Linked DNA regions of Homo sapiens: regions 1 and 2 are each linked to region 3. Evidence: promoter capture Hi-C in 16 types of primary human blood cells and fetal thymus (Javierre and others, 2016). All regions are on one chromosome and are shown on one strand. The core of a region is centred on a gene start or on the middle of the fragment in contact, and the rest is flanking DNA. Distances in the headings are between cores, read along the strand shown. Region 1 overlaps LOC439933 (a long non-coding RNA gene). Region 2 overlaps DTHD1 (death domain containing 1). Region 3 holds the start of TBC1D1 (TBC1 domain family member 1).

Region 1 (4,782 bases), core at 2,153-4,652, 1.6 Mb before region 3:
TAATATTGAATAACTTAATTGAGCATCTTGAAGATACATTTTACAGGCAATTTTAGACACAGGAGAAATTATTTAATATTAGTAGCTTGACTGATAATCCCTGTTTTTATCCTCTGCTTTCCAGGATGCAAAAATCACAAGGCTCAGCTAGGTACATTTGTAGGTGCTCATGCTCTTTTAATTTTTTGACAAAATTTTGGCTCTACATATCATACATTGTGAAACAGTAGGATGAATTATTACACTGAGAAACTACAAATGAGGTACTTCATATTGCACGTGAGGTATTTTAATTTCGGTAACTTCTGGTCAAATTTCATTCTCGCATTTGGTATTTGAAACAAATGAATTCTGCTTGCTTTAATCCAAAATAGACGATATTGGACTCTGAATCCAAACTGCATAGATCTTAATCCCTGGGCTAGGCCTAAATTGCCTATTCCTTCAACACATGTTTATTACCCTTGTGCTATATCAGTCAAGTTTCAGGCAGAGGAGGAAAGTCCCTATGTGTTCTAGGAAAAAGGACTCATTATAGGAATTAGACTTTATACAATGGTGGAAGGAACTAGAAGGTGTGGGAGGATGAGTTAAAGGATCAGAAAAGAAATTAGCAAGGAGCTAATCTGAGAAGCCAAGTATATTCAGTTGCTAAATTTGAGCCACAAAGGGGAGCCCATAGGAAGTGCTCCCTGCAGAGACCAACTCTACAACTCTAGGGGTCCACAGCCAAATGTCTGGAAGTATGTCTTGAGGCCAGCATTGATCTTTAGGGCCAGTAGGCTGGAGGAAGACCTAGTAGCAGAGCAGAGAAAGAAGGCACACTGGAATCTACTGAGCACCACTAATCTATCCATTACCTCCTCAGACTGCAAAACAGCTTTCACAGACTATTGTCTGCTGTGTCACTTCCAATTTTCAAATCTTTTGCAAGCTTTTCTGTTCACTAACTCTATATTGGTAAGGGACTATATAGGTGAGGGGATTCTGGGAAACGTAGTTCTTAGTTTTACCAAGATAATGTAATAGTGTATCATAGCCTGTTCGTGTAAGAAAATGAACTAAGTAATCTGTAAAATGGGACTCATAACAGGGTATTTGAGAAGATGAAATAACATAATGCATGGAAAGCTTTTAACAAGTCACCTACTGAATATTCAAAAAATGATTTTAATTATTCTATATTAAACAAATAGACAAAAATGGGAAGTAATATGATTAACTTGCTCAAAGTGCATTAAAGCAATAATATGCATATTGCTGTGGCTCCCATGAGAATGTGCATCTCGGACCCCTGACTGCTGAGAGTGTAACTAACCAATGCCTCTAGCTGCTAAGCTCTGGAACTCATTGCCTCAGTTGCTTTAGGACCACAGTTTCTCCTTGGCTCTCAGCCAATGTCTGGGTGTGGCAGTGACACCAAGGCAGGTGTGTTGCTGGGAAACCCAGAAGTCCTTTGTGAGTAGAGATTTTTGGCTTGAGACCTCCCAGATGGCTATGTTGATCTTTTCTTAAAACCGCAGGGCTGCAGGACCCATTTAAAATGATTCCACCAAAATTAACTTCCTTCCTTGCTTCCTTCCTTCTTTCCTTTATTCCTTCCTTTCCTGTTTTTCTTTTTTAACCAAGGTCAGACCAAGCCTTTCCCAGCTCCCACCCCTTTTCTCTCTCTGGCAGTTCCCTTAATAAATTTCTTACATGTTTAATCTGGTACAGCTATTTGCTTCTTGGATGACATGGATGAACACAACTGCGAAAGAAAAATGTTAGCACACTAAGAAAATAAGGTCTAGAACCAAAGAGGGAAAAAAAGGAAAGTTAATAAACAAATAATTAATTTAGAAAAATTGACCTCTATAATTTGATTAGACCAACAAAACTGCCTGGGTGCTAATTCTAGACCTTTTTTTTCACCACATAGAGTTTCAAGATAAGAGTTTCTTTATATAGAGTTTACACTCATAGTTCACATACCCTTCCTTCCCTAACAGAAGCCAGGCTATGTCTGGAAAGTGTACTTAGAATGGGAAAATCCAGTTGTCCTGAGACCACACGGATGAACATCCATGGAAATTTACCTGTTCCATGCCTATGTTCTCACTCACTTCCACTAGTCTTTTGTCTAGAGTGAAGTTATCTCTGAAAGAGTATCTGAGAAAATATAGCAAGTTTTCCAAGTTCCAGGAAATCCGAGTAGGTGAAGATACGCTTCACCTCACTGTATATAATGCAACATTGAATGGACTGACACTTATTCTGGCCCAAAGCATAGTTGATCTAATATTTGAATAAGACTATAAAGGATAAGCTCATCTTCCTTTCTTCCATTGCTTTATCTTCTATTTCAGCTTCCATTGAGATGATCAAGAATATGCTAAGTTAGTACTCTATTGCCTAAAAGAAAATTAGTTCCCAGGAAGACAGTTTAATTTTCAAATGCTTTCACTGGATTCAATATAAGAACCAGAAAGAAATATTGATGCTTTTTCAAAGCCTCTTTTGGAGACCTTGTTCATTATATTAATAATCCTTTACATAAAGATCTAGATGCTAAAATCATCTGTAATTCAGTACCTGATACCTCCCGGATGGCTAGGTTGATCACTCCTTAAAACTGCAGGGTCCATCTAAAATGCTCCCATTCAAATTTCCTTCCTTCATTCCTCCCTCCCTCCCTCCTTCCCTCCCTCCCTTCCTTCCTTCCTTCCCTTTCCTTCATTTCTTCCTTCCCTCTTTTTATTCTTCAACCAAGTTCAAACCAAGCCTTTCCCAGCTACCTCCCCTTTTCTCTCCCTGGCAGAAATGTTTTATACCTCCTTTCATCTAAAAATGGGACTAAGACTTTATTCTGCCATTGCCTTGATGGCCAGGAAACTCAGTGTGAAGGTCAATGCTTAAGAATGATGTTTCCACTTTCCTAGTAATTCTTTTTCTCTTTTCCCTGTATAATTTTTTATTTGTAAAACTTTATTAGTAGTACTTATATTGTTTGTGAGTTTATTTTAGGTAAGCTTAAATAGTTGGATTTTTTAGAGGGGATGGAAATAAGTAGGCTATAAAATTTTAAATAAATTATACATGTACGTATATATCAATGTTTACTATGCCCAAACCATGATTAAAAATCACTGATGAAGTTTTAGAAATAAACAGGCCAGGTGGTGTGGCTCAAGAATGTAATCTCAGGATTTTAAGAGGCTGAGGCGGGTAGATCACTTGAGCCTAGGAATTTGAGGCAGCAGTGAAGTATGATTGTGTCACTGCACTCCAGCCAGGGCAACAAAGCAAGACCCTCATCTCTAAAAAAAAGAACAAAAAAAGAAAGAATACTGAAGGGAGTTGTGAAAAATTTAATAGTTTCAATTCAAGCAAGCATGCGAATTTACATCTCATGCTTTTTATTTAAAGGAATGGATCTTTTTGTTTAACCTGTGTCAGGTAGCAGCACTGGAACACGAAGCTGATTGGTTACAGATCTGGTTCTGTAGTATCATGAGAGCCAGCTAGCTCTTCCCTCGGTATCTCCATTCATAAAGTATGAGGGTTGGACTAGGAAGACCTAAGGGATCATTTTTAGCTCTGGAATTGTATGATTTCTTCTGAATTTAAACTTATTCTATTTCAATATTTAAACATCTAATTATCATAGGAGAACACATTCAAGAATGACATTAAGAGGTGACTATGCAAGAGGAAGTTTCCTAACTCTTTTCTCTTTACAAAGACATGCTGAGGACATGGACTGTAATGAAGCATTTCCTTTCAAATTAGATTTGAATGTTACATCAGATAATGAAGCTTTTGAAGTTCTAAGAACTCAAAATTCCATTCAGTGGTCTGACGTCATGAAAATGGATCCTTAACCAGTCAAAAGAGCTAATTCATTTTGGGAGAAAAAATGAAACAAAAGCATCTACAATTTCTTAGTCATTATAGTAGCTCTGTGAAACTATTATATAACCAGCTTAAAAACATACTGTTTTGGTATATATTGTGCAAAAAAGATTCTAAGCTTGACAACAACAAAGAATAGACTCAGTAACTATTTAGAAATACAGCAATTTGCTTTGTTTCAAGCATAGCTGTTACCAATTACTTCATTCTAGCAGTCATGATAGAGCAATACCATCTGAAGGACCTTGGCATTAACTTTGTTGTGAAATATCAGATAGTCTTTGCATGCTGCAACAGGTTGAGTATTTATTTACCTGTAGCATTAATTTGATCTCCAAACAAAATTATATGATATGGGCAGATTACATAGCAATAGAAATGTGTTTATTTAAGTCCAACTAACATAGTTAGCTAGCTAGCTGTGCCATGTAGGCTAACCTACACAAACATGACGTAAGATACATACTTTAATTTCAGCTGCCTGAGAAATGAAACTTTTCTTCTCAGTGCCTAGAAGAGTAGGCACACAAATGTGAAAGCACATAGTAGATGCTTAGCAAACATCTGGTAAATAAACATGCTTTTATGTTATCTTGATAAGCTTAGTGTCTAAAGTGGGAGTTATTAGCATTCACCAAAATGGATGAATTTTATTTCTCCATAAGACATGGAATTTATGATAGAATGTGTGTATAACTCTATATGTATACTTAGATGCCACTGATATTTGTTATATTTCTGGTGTTTTGTTTAGCTGTTTATGGTGGTTGCTCTTGTTTTCTTCAAAAATATTGAAATAGAATTGTCTACTTGTGAGAAGTCCTTTCAGCCTGATCTTATGAAGTGCTATAAGCTATATTTTACCTCAGTATTGAGGCTCTCCAAAAA
Region 2 (4,287 bases), core at 1,533-4,032, 1.6 Mb before region 3:
AAATAAATTTGATAATTAAAATTTCATTGATGTGTTTGCACTTATTCTCTTAAAACTGTAACATTTAATAAGTAAAAAGTTATGCTCATTAACTCAAACAGATTTTAGTTTATGAACTTCAACTGTTTTTGTTTTTATTTTTTCTTCTGTAGATGTATTATATCAGTCAACACGTTAATTTAGCAACCACAAAATCCCTAATATATACAAGATATTCTGTAAGGCCTAAAAGTGATAATAATAATAGTAGAAGCCAAAATTCTAGCTTTCAAGGAGATTACAGTCCAGTTTAGGAAATAAAGTATAAAACTTTAAAAGTTATAAAACAAAGCAAGAGATAAATAATAATTGAATACAACAATACAGCAATAGCAAAAGGCAGGAACTGATTGTTAATTGCAAATGAATAGTAAGATGTTAAATGCTAGGGCATTTCAGAGAAGGGGGTGAACGCTGTGGACTGAGGTGACTTGCGGGTGCTTCAGGGAGCAAAATGATTGCAGAGAATGTTTAGGGTCTGGAGAGGAAGAGAGAAAGGGGCAATGAGTTTCACACAAGAGAGATGGCATGAGTAGAAACTTTGAAGTGGTCAAGCACAAGACGTGTTCCGAGAAAGGATGATGAATGCACCTGTTTCTTCAGGGGAAGATTTGGAAATGTCATGTTGGAAATAAGCTGGGGAAAGATTATGGAGGGCCTTTAATTCCTTACTTAGATTAACTAAATGACTCTGTAGTTGTGGTAGCAAGCTTTCTGTCAAAATTCACCAAAAAACTGTGATTGATTTCATGACATAGAGAGCACATGCAAACCAGAGACCCTTAGTTTTTGAGTAAACAACAAAATCTCTCATCTACTGATACTCTTGAAACTGGTATGGCCATAATTGAGGATGGAGAAATAGGTATCTGGTTTGTTTATAATTAAGTTGATCTTTTATCTTTTGAGTAACAGCTAAAGCCATTGGAAAGCCATTGGAAAATTTTAACTAGGAGAGTGATATGATCAAGTTTTGTTAGCAACATTACTACGACAGCCTATAAGGATAAACTAGAAATGGATGAGCTTAGCAATAGTAAAATAAAGAGCTAATGAAATAGTCCACAGAAGACAGTGTGATAGCCTATGTAAGATCATGACAGTAAAGATAGCAAGAAAAGAACAGAGTTAGAGAGAGATTCAGGATTTGAGATCAACAGGTCTTGGTGATAGAGTGAATGTGTGTGGGACTGGGTGGCAGGAGAATATTGGCAGATAGAGGAAGTCGTGAAGGGGATTTCCAAGGTTGCTCTCAGTACACTGGTTTGAGCTACTGTCCTGTGATATAATACAGTGTTTGTTGATTTTACTTTGGAAGTGTTGTTTAAACTTGCATTTCATCTTCAGTCCCTCTAATATTGCCTTAACACACAGATGATAGCAACATTTTCCTTGGAGGCCTATCACTAGTTCCCTTATCTGCTTTAGGCTGCCTTCCTCACAATTGACAGCTTGATTTTTCTCAAAAACAAATATGATTTCATCACTCTTCCAAAACTTCTCATTGGATGTCTATTGATTAAAAGTCCAAGCCAGTTACCGTGGCATATAGGGCCCATTGCAAACTCCCACAGCTCATCGTCATAACCTTTTTATATTACATTTCCCCAACTAACATATTTTGCTCCAGTTCTACTTAAAGCCTCACTTCTCTTCAAGACTCTTCCCACGGGCTGCCATTGTGACAGCAATGACTCCACACTTAACCCTATTATCCCCTCTTTAGGAGCAGTCTTTAAGTTTTCCAGGAAGTATTAGACACTGCACTGTATCTGTAACTAAAGCACTTTGAATATATATATAACATATATATTATATATATAAACATATGGTCCATTATAATTTTTATTTATATAAAAATCATGGTAATGATAATAATGATGAATACCTACTAAATTATTCCCTGCTAGTAACTTGACAAAGCATTTACACATTAACTTATTTATTGAAAAAAAAAAAAACCTTAAATAAAAGTTTCTTCATTTAAGAAACTGAAGCATATAGAGGTTTTCCCCAAGGGGAAATGGCAAAACTACTGTTTGAAACCAAGTTTGTCTGATTTCAATGGCAACACTCCTAACATTATACTCTACTGTCTGCTTTTGAGACTGAGTTCCTCAGGGTTGAGAGCACTGCTCATTCAATTTTGTAATCCCTTCCCCGAGGATGCATTCAATAATGTTTTGCTGAACTCTTTAATGAATAAATGAAAGCATGCTGGGGAAATTGAAAAAGCAATTGAAGGTGGAGTTTTAATAGCTGACAGAAGCCTTACCTGTTTTCTTCCCATCTAGCAGTTGCATTTAGCAGAAGCCTTTCATGACTTTAAAGGAATGACTAATAGGATTTCACACACTGTGGCAAGACCTGGGAGGGTGACATTTTGTGTGTGGCTGTCCAGGCCTTTCCCAGAAACATTCAGATTACTCTTTCTATTGGAAAAACTATTTCTAGCTATGATCCAAAAAGCCAAACCAAAACAAGGATTTGTTTTTCTTTTTTTTTTTTTTTCTTTCTTCAGACGGAGTCTCGCTCTGTCACCCAGACCGGAGTGCAGTGGCATGATCTCATCTCACTGCAACCTCTGCCTACTGGGTTCAAGCAATTCTCCTGTCTCAGCCTCCCAAGTAGCTAGGATTACAGGTGCCTGCCACCTCGCCTGACTAATTTTTGTGTTTTTAGTAGAGACAGGGTTTCACCATATTGGTCAGACTGGTCTCGAACTCCTGACCTCAGGTGATCCACCTGCCTTGGCCTCCCAAAATGCGGGGATTACAGGTGTGAGCCACCGCGCCTGGCCCAGGATTTTTTTAAATCTGCTATAATAACCTAGAAAGAATTATGCTAAGAGTTAAATAGGCACAGGAATAAATAGGGACAGGATTAAAGTGGAGTGACAAAACCTGTGGGTATTATAATCTAAAAGTGGAACAATAAAGAGAGGAGGTTAATATTAATGCAAGTTCTGGCAATGCTGTATATCTTTCTTTGATTTGTTGAGCTGCTTTAAGAAGTAATAGCGTCTTCCACGTAGCTGCATTTATGGGTCAAGGATATCTGCTCTTGACAAAATTACTTGGAATACTGAGCAAAGTCTTATGCATTTTAACGATTATTTAGATTTATGGAGCGCTTGCATGTTTGAAGTGCTTTATGTGCATTACGTCATTTAATCCTCATGGCAACCTCATGTGGTGCACCTACTTTGCCCATTTAGTAGGTAAAAAATGAAGATAGAGACATGCATTTAGAAATCAGATTTATCTATTCCAGACTGCTTTTGATAATTTTTCTTCACTGCTTCCATATATATTCCATTTATATTTTCTGAAATATCTAGATCTTTGCCCACTTTATATCTGTACACATTCCTGGATGCCCCTTCCTTCTATCTGTCTCCACTCCTTAGATTCTTTGGAGTTATTTGAATTCATCCATCTGGTTACCAGGGGCCTAAAGCTGTCTTCTTTTGTCCAATCAAGGACTGAGAAATTTATCAATCCCCCCTCCCCTTGAAAAAACTATAAAGAGATTGATGTTATGAAAGAGTGATTTTCTAAGAAGCAAGCAACTGAAAAAATAATGAAGAAGCAAAATATAAAGCTGGCTGCATAAAAAAATGTGCATGGGTTTGAAGCAAAGATCTGAGCTAAACAAAGCTACAGAACTACACTGCTTCCATGATTGGTAGTAGCCTGATTTTGTTTCCAAATCGAATTTCTGTATTTACCTCCAAGTGAGACCACTATTGGTCAGCACTTCTTGCTCTAAACTCTGTTCTTATTTTGTTCCACAGCAATCTTACTTCTCTGTGGATTTGTGCTGATTTCCAGACCTCTCTATGTGGAGGTACTTCCTTTTATTTTGAGGGCCAAACGTTTCTGCCTAGGTTTTCAGGAAGTTCTACACTGTGTAATTATAAGAAAGTTCACGAAGACAACAGCAGATTATTGGTGGATGCTGGTACTACGATCTTTTAATGTACTTATTTAGAAAAAAAACCGTGTGTGTGTGTCCACGTGTGCATGCCTGTGGGCATGCACGTAAGCACGCGCAAATACTTAAATACACACAAAAACAGAGAAAATATACAATGAACCTACATGGACACACCTCCCATCACTTTCTGCCATACTTATTTTGTCTAGTACCCTGGTTTGTGGGTTTGTTTTGTTGGAGTATTTTAAAGCAAATCACAGGTGCAATATCATTTTATGTGTAAAGACTTCACAATGCTTCTCTAAGAGG
Region 3 (4,663 bases), core at 1,519-4,018:
CAGAAATTGCTGCTTCTCACAAGGCCATGACCTCTCCCTAACCTAGGTAAGGGTCAAGGCAAATGGTCATTTGCCACTAAATTATAAATCTCTGAGCTGGAACTTGCTGGATGTCAATGCTTTGAGAGATATGAGGCCTGGGCCTGCATCTGGGCCCCACCCATCGACTTCCTACATCTGTATTCTGGTTAGGCACCCCGCCTGGCTGCCTACCTGTACTTAAGCCTTCCTGTACTCTGGGACTAGGGGTAAGGGTGAAGAGAGGGTAGAGGAGGTGAGCAAGTGAGGGAAAGAAAAGGTAGTGGAGTGGCAGGATGGGAGGGGGCTCTAGCCAGGATGTTCTGTAAGCAGAGCCCAGCAAATTATCTCTGTTCCCCTTGGCCTGACCCCTTTTCCCAGGAGCAGGGCCTGGCAAGCAGGGTTGTTAGGTAACAGTTTCAACCATCCTCTGGTGGGTTACATACAAAAAGCAGTTTACAGTGTCAATGAAATGAATGCTAGTGTACCTTTCTCGACCTCCTAGCACTCTGGAGGTAAATGTGTGCAGCAGGTCACTGCAGACAGGGAGAGAGAGTTCTACAACAGAGTTGAAGGTAAAAACATGAAATAATTTGGGATATGACCCAAGTGATAACAATATGGTTTAACTGGTTTACCTGGTCTTGTAACCTAAAGAATAATTTCCATAACCCAGTTAACATTCTACTCATTACAGTATTTATGACTGTATATTTCTTAAAAAAGAGTTGAGGCTATGCACACAAATAACTACTCAATGACAAAGAATGAGCTGAGGGCTACACAGTGGCCAGAGAGCAAGTATATTATAAAGGGCTTTGGATCTTGGAGATTCCAGCACCCACTAACCCTGTAGGCACTAACCTCTTACTTTTCTCCTTAGTCAAATGGATTTAACAATCTTTGCCCTGCAGAGTTTTTGAGCAAATTAGCAACAATATATAAGGACAGTATCTAGCACAATACCCCAAATCGACTAACTCCTCCGTAAAGAATAGCTACCACTATTGTGAGAGTTTTAAGTCAAGCTGTGAATAAAACTCTTGGGTCCACTTAAAAATACCTCCCCTGGATGTAAGCATCCAGGGAAATCAGGGAATGCCATAAGACAGCCCTAATCTAAAAGCCTACAAGAAGCTCAGTGGGCTTCAAGGAAGACACTGCTCTTGGTACGATGAGGAAACCTGGCCCTCTATTTGCCTCCTGGGCCACAGTAATATTGATAATAGCTGCTGCTTTTAGTTGAGGACCATGTACGTCTGTGTCACTGCACTGGCCACTTTACTTACACTTTCCTGCTTTGTCCTCACAAAGATCCTGTAAGGTGTGTATTGGTCCCATTTAGCAGGTAAGACAATGAAGACCAGAGGTCCAGCACCTTGCCTAAACCACACCTGCTGGGATTTGGATTCAAGTCCAACCGTACAGCTCAAACGCTCAGCCACTTCCCTAAAGTCCACCCCCAGCTACATTAAGTAAAAAAATCCAGAAAGATGCCACCTGGGGGTCTGGAACTGCCTCCTCCGAGCACCCGGCTCTCCCCTCCCTGCGGACTCTTCTCTGGAGAGGATGTGATGCTTCTTACTTTTCTCAGATCCCTCTCCCCACCCTGCGAGTGACGTTGCGCCTCTGTGCCTGGTGGGATAGGGATCTGGGAGCTTCGCCTGTTTTTTGCACACTGCCATCCCCTAGTCTTAGGGAGCGAGCTCTGTCCCGCTTTTCACATCTCCGCGTCTTTCCTTGCACTCTACATCACCGCTGGGAATGTCCCCAGACCTGATCGGGGCATGCACACTGGGGTGTGCGTGTGCGTGTGGTGTGTGTTCCTGCGCGTGTGCCGGGCTCGCGGGGCAGGAAAAAGCGCCTAATCCAGGCTCTGCGTCACTCCCGCAATTGGTTAGAAATGGAGTTTCCTGGTGTTTAATCCCGGGAGGGCACTTCGCCTTCGTTGTTTCCCAGAGTCCCTGATTTTCCTGCCTCGCATGCCAGCGCCCCATAGGGCATCCGTGCCTCAGTTCACCTCTTGCCATCCTCCAAGGACGGGGAGAAGGGGTAAGGCGGGGGAGAGCAAGGTGGCTTGGTCGCCCCCGGCCCCCGCCCCCCATGTTGTGTGCAGTTTCCACCACGTCTGTTTCGGAGGGAGAAGAGGAGGGTGCAGATGAGGCGAGGCGCCTTCGGGAGCGCGGAGAGCGGGCAGGCAGTGCCACCTGCTGAGAGCCACTCAGGCCGAGCAAGCGGCGGGCAGTGCCACCTGCTATAAATAGGCCGCCAAGGACAGGGTGTGCGACTGTACATCCCGCCACGAGGGCCTGCATCACGCGCGGGGCCCCGCGCCCCCGGCTCCCCAGGGAAACGCTGTGCCCAGATCCTGCGCAGGGGTCTGGATGGGGCGGCGGCCCGAGTACTTCCCCCCTATTCCCCCCACAGACACTGGCTGAGGATGGCCCGCGGGCTTGGGGGCGGGGGGTGGCAAGGAGGGGAGGGAGGCCGCGGCGGACCCGCAGTGCAGCAGCTGTTGCTCGCGTGTGACTCGCCCGTCCGGGCCGTGCTGCCCAGGCACAGTCACACGGCGCAGTGGGGAGGAGGAGGACACCGAGTCCCCCTCCCAGCTCCCCGGGGACCGAGTGGGGAGATCCCGGCTCCTGTCTTCCCCTCGCCTCCAGCGCGCTCGCCCAGGCTGGGAGGAGGAAACCAGAGCCGCGCGCAGACACCTCCTCCTTCTCCTCCTCTTCTTCCTCCTCCTCCTCCTCCTCCTCTTCGGCTGCTGCTCCTGGTGCCGCCACCGTCCGCCGGTGCCTGTTGCTGCCGCCGCCGCGGGACCTGCTGTGTCCTCAGCTGGGTGGAGAAGAGGCGGGCGCCGAGCCGAGGGGAGCCCCCTCCCCGTCCCCCCGCGGCGGGAAGAGCGCAGCCAGCCGGGTGCGATGGACTCCCCGCCCGCCCAGGCCGTCCCCAGGATGCCCCCAAGCACCTGCGCGTCCCGGCCCGGCCCCGGGCTCTGAGCGCGCCGCGGCACAGGTAAGGCGCTTCCTGGGGCTTCGTCCTGGCCACCCTGCTGGCTCCTCTCGGGGCGTCGCGGCCGCCCCCTCCCGCAGCACGCCCCTGCCCCGCCTGGCCGCGGAGGGGAAGGCATCTGGCCGCCCACGGACGCGAGGCCAGGGTCTCTCGGGGGAGGAAGTTCATTGCCATCTCGTTGCCCCCCTTACCCCCCCACCCCCGCCGCCCTTGGACGAAAGCGAAACCTTAATGTTGCTAGCGACCCGAGAGCTCCGCCGGCTTCTCCCCCAACCCCCGCCAGCTCACTGGTCCGCGCATCTCTCCCCTCCCCCCTCCCGCCAATTATCCTAGCGTGTTTGCAAGGCGACCAGATTGGAAAGAGTGTGGTCAGAGTGACCCCAAGCCACGCTTTAAAAGTTCAGGGTACTTTGCAGTAGTAACTTTGGCAGCTCCACCAGTGCGCGCAACATTTCTTTCTATGGGTACATCCTGTACCAGTCATTTTGAAACCCTGCTTCATTGTTTCTAGCCGCTTCCTGATGGCTCTGTGATTATGAGACCCCCCTCAAACTTCACCAGGCATTAAGGTTTTGTTTTTGCTTTTTTTTCAGAGAGGTATCATTTCGTTTGAAATCCACCTAGATGTGGCTTTTCCTGTTTTGATTTTACTTAACATAGCTTATTCTCTGGAAGTTGCTTTAAAAAGAAATTGAAAGTGATGGTTGTTCCTTCCACCAAACAGTTTAATTTTCAGGGTGCCTCATATTAATGGATATGTTTTCCCTTCATAGATTTCTCATTGTTTCCCTTATGATGGGATGATTTCATTTATTAATAAAATCAGACTTTGAAAGAGCATTTAAAAATGACCTGGTTTAAATAGGTCACACCCAAGAAACTCAGCTATCTGTACAAGTTCAAACTTCTAAACTTTTTCAATGAGCTAGGGGTGGTGGCACCCACCTGTAGTCCCAGCTACTTGGGAGGCTGAGGCAGGAGGATCACTTGAGCCCAGGAGTTCGAGGCCATAGTGAGCTATGACTGTGCCACCTCACTGGAGCCTGGGTGACAAAGTGAGATCCCATCTCTTAAAAAAAAAGAGTTTAGGGGACATTTTCTGAAGTGAACACAAGTAGAGCATTCTAACACTATTGAGTGCAAGGAGACCTGGAAGGGACTAAGTGGTTCAAAGCAGGAAATAAAATCATCAGGTGATAATTAAAATAATTTCTTTCCTGTGGATTTGTCCAGCCATTTGCAAACCAGGAGAATAGGAAAAAAAATCACTAGTGTAGTTATAAATTATTACATTACGTTTTCAAAGGAAAATTTTGCAAATGCGTCTCCTTGTCATAGTCTATTGTTATCTACCCCACTGAGAGTGCTGGGGCTTCCCCTTTTCACCACGACAGCATTTCTGGTTGGGTGGCAGTCATGCAGTGTTGACCTGGTGTCCCATAAGGCACAGTTTGTCAAAACACTAGTGGGTATTAGGAGGAAACGTGCAACTCTGAAGCAACAGAGCTTGCCCCTTCTTCCTCATTATCCAGCTGGTGATAATCCCTGTCCCCCACTTCCCTAGAAGACAGCTTTGACCAGGAAGGCTGCAATGACAATGAGATGTACCCCTATGCAGAGCCAGATGTGGGCG

What was found. Contacts are between HindIII fragments. The CHiCAGO score rates a contact against its expected background, and 5 or more counts as called.
Region 1: a fragment that was not itself captured here is called in contact with the fragment with the promoter of TBC1D1 in region 3 in 2 of 17 cell types (M2 macrophages and M1 macrophages); the score reaches 9.0 in M2 macrophages.
Region 2: a contact is called between a fragment that was not itself captured here and the fragment with the promoter of TBC1D1 in region 3, in 1 of 17 cell types (M2 macrophages). The highest score is 5.3, in M2 macrophages.

Annotation. Positions count from the first base shown.
Region 1 is chr4:36,263,895-36,268,676 of GRCh38, forward strand. All of the region lies in intron 3 of LOC439933 (a long non-coding RNA gene), which reads left to right. Among named protein-coding and RNA genes, the nearest start is that of DTHD1, 15 kb to the right of the region's middle. The HindIII fragment of the contact is 787 bases long and covers 3,010-3,796 here.
Region 2 is chr4:36,324,428-36,328,714 of GRCh38, forward strand. The region is part of intron 8 of DTHD1 (death domain containing 1); the gene reads left to right. Among named protein-coding and RNA genes, the nearest start is that of DTHD1, 45 kb to the left of the region's middle. The HindIII fragment of the contact is 4,071 bases long and covers 748-4,287 here.
Region 3 is chr4:37,888,316-37,892,978 of GRCh38, forward strand. It overlaps TBC1D1 (TBC1 domain family member 1), which reads left to right and starts at 2,769. Exons shown (of 22, transcript NM_001396959.1): 1 at 2,769-3,033. RefSeq lists silencers at 2,288-2,477, 2,798-3,297, 4,327-4,376 and enhancers at 4,077-4,206, 4,637-4,663. The HindIII fragment of the contact is 15,185 bases long and covers 1-4,663 here.